2 separate regions of the Homo sapiens genome follow, and region 2 is linked to region 1. Evidence: promoter capture Hi-C in 16 types of primary human blood cells and fetal thymus (Javierre and others, 2016). All regions are on one chromosome and are shown on one strand. Each heading gives the region's core, a stretch centred on a gene start or on the middle of the fragment in contact. The rest is flanking DNA. Distances are from core to core; before and after follow the strand shown.

Region 1 (5,371 bases), core at 2,074-4,573:
CCTGGCCTCAAGCGATCCTCCCAAAGTGCTGAGATTACAGGCATGAGCCACCACACCCAGCCTCTCACGTCTTCAAACCTCCCTTGTATGCTGATGACACTGATGTCTCTCTTTCTAGTCCATGCCTCTCTTTGGGCTTTGAAACTCATATCTAGCTGCTTACTTGGCATATCTGCCTGGTTTTCTCTCAGCCATCTTGAACTGGGCTAATCTTCAATCCCAAACTGGTCTATTTATCTTCCCTCCTTCAACTTGTGCCTCCCTTGGTTGTCCTCAAATGAGTAAACATGTCACCACCGCCCACCCCACCACTTAACGCAGAAGCCCACCCCTCCCCCATGAAATCCACAGCTAAGTTTTCTTTTCTTCTTCCAAGATACATGTTGAAAGCTGTCCATTTCTCTCCATTCTTAACACCTAATTCCCGGCCACGATCATCTCTTTCCTGGACGTATGCAGCAGCCCCCATTTGGCCTCCTGCTTTATTCCTGCACCCTCCCAGTCCTTCTCCACACGGCGCTCAAAGGTCTTGCAAAACATACAACCTGATCATGTTAGCATACTGCCTAGACTCCTTCACGGCTGCCCACTGAGATTAGACTGCAGCAGAGCCTTCTCATCCACACCACAGCTCACAGGCCCTGCCTGGTGGGGCCCAGGCCTGCCTGCCCACCTCATCTCCTGCCACTGTCCCTATTGCCTGCCATGCTCCAACCACACTGTTCTCCATGGCTTCCATGTGAGCCCTCTTGACTCAGGGCCTTCGTACATGCAGTTTCCTGGTCTGCAACACCCTGCCTCTCACTTGTTACTTGACAATGCATCCTCATCATTCAGGTCTCAGCTGAAATGTCAGTTGCTCAGGGAAAGCTGGTCCACTCTCTTCCCTGACCTAAATCCCTCATTTCTCTCTCTCACAGGACTTGCTTATCATATTTGGTAAGAGTATATTACTTGCAGGCTAATTGGTTTAACAAAGTGTCAGCGTGCCACTGGGTTGAGGACCCAACCCACCTCTCTCTATATTTTTATTCGCCAGGTCCATGATTCTCAACTGGGCTGAGGGGATTGTGGGTGGGGAAGCGGGGTGCGGGATGGAAATTTGTTTCCCAGGGGACATCTGGCAATGTTTGAAGACATTTTTTATTGTCACAACTTGGAGTGGGGGTGCTACTGGCATGTAGTGGATAGAGGCCAGGGATGCTGCTGATATCCTATAATGTACAGGACAGGCCCCCACAACAAAGAATTATCCTGCCCCAAAATGTCAATAGTGGGGAGGTGAGAAACTGTGCCTGCCCTCGGTGATCTCATGGATGCTCATAGTCCTAAAAACCATGTATATGCAGATTATTCCCACATTTCTGTCTCCAGCCCAGGCCTCTACCTGGAACTCCAGACTCACATACCCAACCACCTACCTGACATCTCACCCGGATGTCTAACAGCACAAACAGACTCAACACATCTAAAGCCCAATTCCTGCTTCCCCCCACTCAACCCTTCCCATTGCACAGGCTAAAAAATATACAAGGCATTCTTGACTCCTCTTTCTCTCACACCCTATGTCCAAACCGTCAGCAAATCCTCAACGCTTTCCTCAAGGCAGATCCAGCATGGACCACGCCCCGCTAATCTCCTGCTAACACCTTGGTCTCCACCTTCACACACTCAGGACTGGCTTCCCTGGCTGGGCGCGGTGGCTCACGCCTGTAATCCCAGCACTTTGGGAGGCTCAGGCAGGTGGATCACTTGAGAAGTCAGGAGTTCGAGACCAACCTGGTAAACGTGGAGAAACCCCATCTCTACTAAAAATACAAAAATTAGCCAGGTGTGGTGGTGGGTGCCCGTAACCCCAGCTACTTAGGAGGCTGAGGCAGGAGAATCGCTTGAACCCAGGAGGTGGAGGTTGCAGTGAGCAGAGATCATGCCACTGTACTCCAACCTGAGCGACAGAGTGAGACTCTGTCTCAAAAAAAAAAAAAAAAAAAAAGAACTGGCTTCCCTGCTGCTGCCTTCATACCTCCACAGTCTATTCTCAACCCAGCACCCAGAATGATCTTTTAAACATAGAAATAGAACATATCACACCATAGCACAAAACCAAGGTCATTACCATGGTCTATAAGTCTCCAGTGTCCTGACCCCTCAGTGACATCCCTGACCTAAACTCCTATGATTCTCCCCTCACCTCACTTTGCTCCAGGTATACCCACCTCCTTGTTGTTCTTCAAACACACCAAGTATGCTAATGCCTCAGGGCCTTTGCACTGCCTGTCCCTGCTTCCTGAACATTTCCCCTCCAGAGAGCTGCGTGGCTTTGCTTCCTCACTTCCTATAGATCTCTGAAAAAAGATCTGAATAAAGGCTCACCTTCTCAGTGAGGCTTCCCTGACCACTCTATATAAAATAGCGACCCCTCCTACCTCGAACTCCATAGCCTCCTCTTGTTTTATTTTCATCTGGAGGACTTATCATCTTCTGATATACTATATACTTCTTTCTGTTAATTACCTGTCTCCCCTCTCTAGAATGTAAGCAGGGAGTCAGTTTCATTTAATGTTGGACACTCTATATCCAACACAGTGCTTGGCACACAGCAGAGACAAATCTGTTGAGTGAACAAAAGAATGTTGTCACCAATTCTCAGATGAAAAACCAAGGCTCAGAGGCTTTAAGTAACTCACCCAAATGAAGCCCACAGAGCCACGGTTCTTCCCATGGCCCCAGACTTGTTCCAAGACCTCCTCCCTACCTCTTCCCCCAAAAGAAGGGGAAGGATGTTTAGGAGTGAGGGTATGGTGGTTTGGTCAGGGGAGTGGAGTTTAGTTTTTTATAAGAAGCCCCCAGGGCCACAGGAGACCTTGATGGTGTGGGGAAAGATGTCTGAATGGGCAGAGGCCTCCTGAGTCCACCTTTGTGGCAACCCAGTTCTAAGAACCCGGGATGGGAAAGGGGTCAGTGTGAATGGGGAACCTGCCAGGCCCCCTGGGCACCAGCCTCTAGCTACCTGTGGGCCCTGAGCAACTCCCACCCGCTGGAGGGTAGGGAGCCACACCCCACCCTGCCTGCTGCCCCAGGGTGCCAGCACAGCATCTCCCAGCCCCTGGCTCCAGAGGTCACGCTTGTAGTGACAGAGAGCCCAGCTGGGAGAGAGAGCCAGCCGGCAGGGAGCCTGGCCTGGATAGCCCATTGCAGCCCCGCTCATCCCACTTACTCTGCCATTCGGTGATGGAGATCATGCCGCACTCAGCCTGGGGGGCTTTCCGGGTGGAAGCGGGCAAGTGGAGCGTGGCCCAGAGGACGCAGCTGGTACATGGTCACGGGAAGCTGACCCTTGGTTAAGTTGCGAAATGAGCCTGTGGCAAATCATTAACTCTCCCTCCAGCCCCCGCTCCACCCCCGCACACCACGCAGGTGCTTCTACTCGCCAGCTCCCTCCTCCCGTTTTCCGGTAGGGCAATGCCCCGCCCCTCCACCTGCCGCGCCTGCCCGGGGAAGGCACCGCCCACCTGACCCTTTCCTCGCACCTCGCGGTGTTCTGCGGCTCTCGTCTGCTCCGCGAAACTTAGATTGTATGTGGAAGCATTGGAATCTAGGGGGTGCTCAAGTTTCTTGCTTGGTTTGATAGTGTGGGAAGAGTTGGCATCTGCGCATCCCTTTGGGAATGTACTAAATTCATCTTGAAAGTCAAGCTTTTTGCTCTCTGCTATTGCACATGCTAGGCGCTGGGAGGCGATGAGCGACTGAGCACAAAGCCTGTTGTTGACCTAATGGCAGAGCCAGATCGGGTTAAATCAATGGCAAAAGCGCCATGGGGGAAGTTAGACGTGAAGGTCTTCGACCTCCTTTCCCCAAGCGGCGTCCAAGCTTTGGACTGACTGTGATGTTGAGCTATGGAAGACAAAGCCCTGAATTTGGGGTTGGGGCAGGACTGCACAATTTAGGAGGCCTGGTTCTAGTCTACCCACCAGCTGTGTAGACATGGATTCGTCCTTTGGGCCTGCAAAAAGAGAGGCAGTTAGTTCCTAACATCCTTTTTTCCCATCGCAGAGCAGTGGTTCTGACGTGGCATTGATGCCAGGAGAGCCAACATCCACTTTGCAATGTCTTCTGTGTCCAGAAATGAAGAAATGAATTTCAAAGACTACCTATATACATCATTTAAAAATGCAAATAGGCCTGGCATACAAAATGCATTATGTCTGTAATCCCAGCATTTTGGGAGGCCAAGGCAGGAGGATTGCTTGAGCCCAGGAGTTTGAGACCAGCCTGAGCAACATAGTGAGACCTTGTCTCTACAATAATAAAAATAAAAAATTAGCCGGATGTGGTGGTACCTGCCTGTAGTCCCAGCTACTGGGGAGGCTAAGGTAGGAGGATTGCTTGAGCCCAGAAGGTCGAGGCTGCGATGAGCTGTGATCAAGCCATGCACTCCAGCCTGGGTAGCAGAGCGAGATCCTGTCTCAAAAAAAAACAAACCAAACAACAACAACAAAACCAAGGAAAGCTAACATAATTTTTTAAAAAGAAACAAAAAGATAAATTATAATAAAACATGATGTCTTTCAATATATAAATGTTCAGGCAAGACTTACCAGAAGACATAAATGAAATAGGCAGATTGCTTGCACCCACACATAATATATGTTTGAATTTAAGAGAAATAGAAGATGAGCCATTCTATGCAAAAACAAAAATCACACACATGCAAGAAAATGAAAGAGTAGCAGGAAGTGAACATAGAATAAAAACTGTTAGATAAGGAATAACAGACCAGACGTACTTGCATATGATGAGAGGGAAAGCATCTTAATTGAAATAGGGATAACATAGCAAGGCAAATTAGAGAGCACAAGGTGGAGATAATATAGAAGTATGATGTGCATGCAAAGGAACTCAGTCTTAGGTATGTGTGTATTGTCAAAATAGCTCCCATGGAATGGGGTCGCCATAGAGTACCACAGACACATCAACCTCTGTCTTGAAACATATCAGCGTTGAGGTAAAATTCAGTCTCTGGGATCTTAAAAGGCCTTAGAGATCACATATTTCCAATGGGCAATGGGGGATAGAGGATGGATTGGGAAAAGAAAAGAAGATAAAAGTGGTTTAGAGCAATTGCATGTGGACACCCGGGACAGTGTTGTAAAGACAGGACACAACATTTCCACACATAATTATGACAACATAGCATCCTTGGGCTCCAAAAAAACTAAACATATAAAGGATGGCAATAATATGAAATAAACCCTAAAAACTTTTATTAAGGAAACTCAGTGAGATCTTCTGCATCTCAAGTGTCTCTGATTCCATGTTTGCTTCTCTCACATATCCTCTGTTAAATATTTTCAGTCAATTTCTTCGTTTA
Region 2 (5,778 bases), core at 3,247-5,746, 420 kb before region 1:
CAGGCGCATGCCACTACGCCCGGCTAATTTTTGTATTTTTAGTAGAGACGGGGTTTCACCATGTTTGGCAGGCTGGCCTTGAACTCCTGATCAGGTGATCTGCCCGCCTCGGCCTCCCAAAGTGCTGGGATTACAGGCATGAGTCGCTGTGCCTGGCCATATCTAAAATTTTAAATGGACGAGTCAGTTATCACTAACAGCTGGCATGGTAGCAAGCCTCCAAGAAAGACCCCAATGATCCCTGGCTCCTGTTACCATGCCCTTGCTTAGTCCCCTCCCACATAATGCCAGTGTTAATCTGTGTGATCAATAGAATACAGAAGAAATGGTGGTATGTAATGCCCAAGGCTAGGTCATAAAAGGCATTGCAGCTTATAGTGTCTATCTTTACTATTTCTCTCGTCATTCACTCTGGGAGAAGCTTGTTGCCTATATCCTGAGCAGCCCTACGGAGAGGCCCTCAGAGTGAGAAACTGAGGTCTCATCTCCTGTTAACAGCTATATGAGTTGACTTGGAAATGTATCTTCTAGCCCCAGTCAAGCCTTCAGATGACTGCAGTCCTGGCCAACTTGATTGCAAACTCATTAGAGACTCTGAGTCAGAACCATCCAGCCAAACTGCTTCTGAATTCCTGACCCACAGACACGTGAAATAACAAATGTTTGTTCCTTAAGCCACTACATTTTTGGGTGATTTTTTACATAGCAATAAATAATAGATTTAGTAAAAATGGTAGCTCTTGCCTGGCCAAGAGGGTATTAAATAATTCAATAAAGTCTTAGTGCTTATATATATCTAAGAAACTTGATAGAAGCTGTACCAAATTTGACAATAATCATACATATATATTTTTTTTTCTTTCTTTTTTTTTTTTTTGACTGAGTCTCACTCTGTCGCCCAGGCTGAAGTGCAGTGGTACACAATCTCAGCTCACTGTAATCTCCACCTCCCGGGTTCAAGGGATTCTGCTGCCTCAGCCTCCCAAATAGCTGGGATTACAGGTGCACGCCACAACATCCAGCTAATTTTTGTATTTTTAGTAGACATGGGGTTTTACCATGTTGCCCAGGCTGGTCTTGAATTCCTGGGCTCAAGTGATCCACTGGCCTGGGCCTCCCATAGTGCTGGGATTACTGGCATGAGGCACTGTGCCCAGCCACAGTTTTTTTTTTTTTTTTAATGTGTAATTTGTTGTGATTTCCTTTTCTAGTCTAAATAAAGATTCTCTTGAACCTAATTTTGTCTCAATAATTTTGCATTTTTTCCCCAAACTTTTGCTCTCAAAGCAAAAACACACTGAACGTCCCAAAAGGTTTTGTCATTCACTGAAGAGGTCTAGATATGTTTAAAATCCATTTAGAATTTGAAGGGCAGTATGAATAGGGGGAATCTGGCATTGTGTCCTTGGTTTAGATACTTCACCCCCACTTATAACATACAAAGGGCAAGCCCAGCCCCACCCCTGAGAATTCTGTGTGTATATATGGGGGGGTGGGGAAGGTTGGCATGTGCACTCTCCTGACTCTTAGAGGGTTTCCCAACTAGTTTTCTCTCTCTGCAACAGCCTTAGGCTTTTTCTCCTGCCTTTTTTTTTTTTTTTTTCTGTGAGACAGGTTCTCTCTCTGTTGCCCAGGTTGGAGTGCAGTGGTGCAATCTTGGCTCACTGCAAACTCTGCCTCCTGGGTTCAGGTGCTTCCCTGCCTCAGACTCCTGAGTAGCTGGGATTACAGGCGGGTGCCACCACACCCGGCTAATTTTGTATTTTTAGTAGAGACAGGCTTTCGCCACGTTGGCCAGGCTGGTCTTCACCTCCTGACCTCTAGTGATCTGCTGGCCTGGGCCTCCCAAAGTGCTGGGATTACAGGCGTGAGCCCCTGCCCAGCTTGCCCTCTTCAATGTCCTTATTACCCTATTATTTTTTCTTTCCCCCCCTTGAGAGATACTAATGGAAAATGAAACATGATTGTTTCCATCAATAAGGGACTGGTGAAATAAATTGTAAAAAGAGGCTTACAGAGAGCGGGATGGGAGCTATTAAAAAGAATGTAGGCCGACGTGGGCAGATTACCTGAGGTTAGGAGTTCCAGACCAGCCTGGCCAACATGGAGAAACCCCGTCTCTACTAAAAATACAAAATTAGCCTGGCGTGGTGGTGCATTCCTGTAATCCCAGCTACTCAGGAGGCTGAGGCAGAAGAATAGCTTGAACCCGGAAGGCGGAGGTTGCATTGAGCCGAGATTGTGCCATTGCACTCCAGCTTGGGAAACAAGAGTGAAACTCTGTCTCAAAAAAAAAAAAAAAAAAAAGAATATGGTAGGCCTCTAAGTGCTGATGACCATTAAAAGATATTCAAGATATATTGTAAAGTGAAAAAAGCAAATTGCAAAACGGTATGTATAGTTTTAGCCTGTTCATATTTTCATTCATTCTAAGATGTACATCCTTTCCTAGCCTGTCACCTAGGCTGGAGTGCAATGGCGTGATCTTGGCTCACTGCAACCTCCACCTCCCAGGATCAAGCAATTCTCTTGCCTCAGCCTCCAAGTAGCTGGGATTACAGATGCGTGCCACTGTGCTGGGCTAATTTTTGTATTTTTAGTAGAGGCAGGATTTCACCATGTTGGCCAGGCTAGTCTCGAACTCCTGACCTTGTGGTTCGCCCGCCACAACCTCCCAAAGTGCTGGGATTAGAGGTGTGAGCCACCCTGCCCGGCCGGCCTGTCAGTTTAATTGGCAGTTGTTGGTTTTTTTCTTCCACTTAGAGGCTTGTAAAATAAAAGTGTATCTTACAATCAATGATACTTTAGGTTTACTGAAATATAACTATAAACTCTATATAGCACACTAGTCAGGCCAGGACTGCATCTTGGAGAGTCCTAGGTTGGAAAACCCTTAAGCTATGTGGAGAGCCCTCTGGTAAATTTTAAAAACCCTAGGTGTCGTGGCACAGACAGAAATTGGTTACCAGTAAGAGTCACACAGACCAAAAAAATGAAGACCAAAACAAAAGAAAAAGAAAAAGAAAGAAAAAAAGAAATTGGCTACCAGGAACTTGCTTATTAGGTCTGTTGACATGGCAATGCCAGAGCACTGTCACGTAAGGCAGAGATTGGAGCTAAGATTCTAAAGTTGTGGTTCTTACTTTGAAAGGAGATAAAAGCCCAGATATGAGGAGGCTCAGGACCCCTCTGCTCTGATAAATTCCTAGTCTTGGGCTGCCTGGGACTCGCACATCACCAACCCGGCAGCTGGAAGAACAAGCACACGAGGAAATAAAAGGTGCCTGAAGTCCCATCTGCTTTATCATCAAGTGTTTCCTTTCTTAGTAGCACAACTATATCCTTTACCCAAGTTAGGTAAAATGTTGCCACCTAATTAGAGTTCTGCTGAGCCACTACCCCAGGGGGACCTTGGGCTCCTATTATATGTGTAATATATTTAAGTATATTTTCAGTGTAAAAGCCAGAAAGGATATATGGTAAGTTAATGAGAGCTATTTCTCAAGAATGAGATTAATAGAGATTTTAACTTTCTACTCTCTATATTTCTGTATTGTTTCTAAAAAAACTTACGTGTATTAAGTTTTTTACTTTTTTTTTTTTTTTTTTTTTTTGAGATGGAGTCTTACTCTGTCGCCAGGTTGGAGTGCAGTGGTGCGATGTCAGCTCAATGCAACCTCTGCCTCCCAGATTCAAGCGATTCTCCTGCCTCAGCCTCTCGAGTAGTTGGGACTACAGGCGCGTGCCACCACGCCTAGCTAATTTTTGTATTTTTGGTAAAGATGAGGTTTCACCATGTTGACCAGGATGGTCTCGATCTCTTGACCTTGTGATCCGCCTGCCGAGGCCTCCCAAAGTGCTGGAATTACAGTCGTGAGCCACCGCACCGGCCACGTGTATTACTTTTATAACCGGGGGAAAAAGTAAAAACATTCAAAAGGGAAAATAAGGGACAATGTTAATAATGAAGCAGGGATGAGACTGCTGATTGCGACCTCCAACTAACTCTCCTGAATTTTGTCACGAGCATGAATTACTTTTCCAATACACAAATTTGCTTTAAGAAATCAAAGAAACACCCCCCCAAAGCCCAATCTCACTTCTTCAAGTAAAAAATAAACTAACAAATCATTCTACATTGCATGCTTAGGAAAAGTACAGTTTATTTCTAAATTAAATGTATACATGGTTTGGGAGATTTACTCATTAAGCAAACACTTTGGTAAGAATAAATTGAGCGCTTACTGAATGGCAGTCTCAGTTCCTGCGGCCCTCCCGCTTATTACCTCATTTGATTTAAAAACAAAAACAAAACGTTATGAAAGCCGGCTTCGAGGCATTCCTCTGAAGGGAAGGGACTCCCCGACCCAGCGCCTCCCCCGTCACGTGACCCTGTGACCCGGAGCAGCCATCTTAGGCATCGCCTCATAGAGGAACTACATCTTCCAGAATCCTCGCGCCCTGCGTCGTGCTGGCACTTTTACCGGCCGGGCCTTAGAGCGGAGCCTGTAGCCAGGCGCCATCTTTGACGCTGGCAGTCTTGGTTTTCTGCTAGTGCTGCTGCTGCTGGGAGGACGACGGACGGCAGCGGCCAAGCAAGAAGAAAGACGTGGCAGCAAGCGGGAGTCGGGGATAGTGTCATCGGTTCGGTAAAGTTTCTGTTCTCTGGTAACTAGACCCGTTTTTTTGATTCCCGGGTGGCTTGGGGCCGGGGAGGTGGGGGAGAGGGCGAGGGGAGTGGCAGCGGCCTCCCCTCGCCCCTGGGTCGCGGCCTATCCCGGGAAGTCAGAGCGGATCCTTCAGCTTCGCCGTAACGACCCCTCCCCCCCACCTCCCGGTCGCGGCCCTCGCCGGGGCTGGCTGGGAGCCCCAGGCTCCCGCTCACTTTTCCCATCCTCCCCACCCCCACCCCGTTCACCCCACCCCCACGGCGCCTGCTCCTTTCCCAGCCAACCTTCCTCCCCTCCCCCACATCCGGTGTTCGCTAATCTCGAGGAGCCCGGAGCAGCCCCGAAAACCGACTGTTCCCCCGAATCCCGAAGAGAGAACTGACACTAGATTGCTTTCTTCGGGGCAACAGTTTCTCTAGTTGAGCGGACCCTCACTGCCTAAATCAATCAGACTGAGTGCCGGGCGCTGAATTTACCTACTCTCATTCCTCTCCAGGGTCCCGGTACTTTGGAGCTTGTCTCAAACTCCACATACAGAAAGCCACCGACCTTATTCCGGTATCCTACACCCATTCCCCACTCTCATTACACTCCCACCCCTGGCCCTCAGCGTCGGAGTCAAGAGCAACAGGGACACTTCCGTTCTCCTTGTAGGACTGGTGAAACCGTAATGAAGAACACCCCTAAACTCCCATAATCGGTGCGGATTCCTATGGGGAAGGCCTATATTGTTGACATCTTCCAGGCCTTGGTTCTGGACCTTGAGAAAGAGGCTGTGGAACTAGAGATAGCGATGCTTTTTAGGGTAAATGTATGTAGGTATTGGGGGAAGGGGAGGGATCAATCGAAAAATGGAAGTGGTTTAAAGTTCATATTTCACTTTTTGCTATCTCTATAGCGTACAACTTGTGAGTTACTTACAGGCTGTAAAAGCTTCTCAAGTCTAAAAATATCTGAAAACTAAACTTGAATTAACTCTTAATACAAACAGTACTTTGAAAATGCAGCATTTAACCTTGTTTTAAAATTTTTTTCTCAAAGCATTTTTTTCCAGCCACTCACATTTTAAAAGGTTGTATTACTTTTAGTTAGAACTGAAAGGGCTCAA

Evidence for each region. Contacts are between HindIII fragments. The CHiCAGO score rates a contact against its expected background, and 5 or more counts as called.
Region 2: a contact is called between the fragment with the promoter of ZBED6 here and the fragment with the promoter of GOLT1A in region 1, in 2 of 17 cell types (fetal thymus and M2 macrophages). The highest score is 6.5, in fetal thymus.

The regions. Positions count from the first base shown.
Region 1 is chr1:204,210,665-204,216,035 of GRCh38, forward strand. It overlaps GOLT1A (golgi transport 1A), which reads right to left and starts at 3,324. Exons shown (of 5, transcript NM_198447.2): 1 at 3,218-3,324. The coding sequence starts at 3,242. RefSeq lists an enhancer at 3,195-3,851. The HindIII fragment of the contact is 7,307 bases long and covers 1-3,693 here.
Region 2 is chr1:203,791,127-203,796,904 of GRCh38, forward strand. It overlaps ZBED6 (zinc finger BED-type containing 6), which reads left to right and starts at 4,497. Exons shown (of 17, transcript NM_001395895.1): 1 at 4,497-5,778. It overlaps ZC3H11A (zinc finger CCCH-type containing 11A), which reads left to right and starts at 4,497. Exons shown (of 18, transcript NM_001376342.1): 1 at 4,497-4,668. RefSeq lists an enhancer at 4,198-4,617. The HindIII fragment of the contact is 5,182 bases long and covers 420-5,601 here.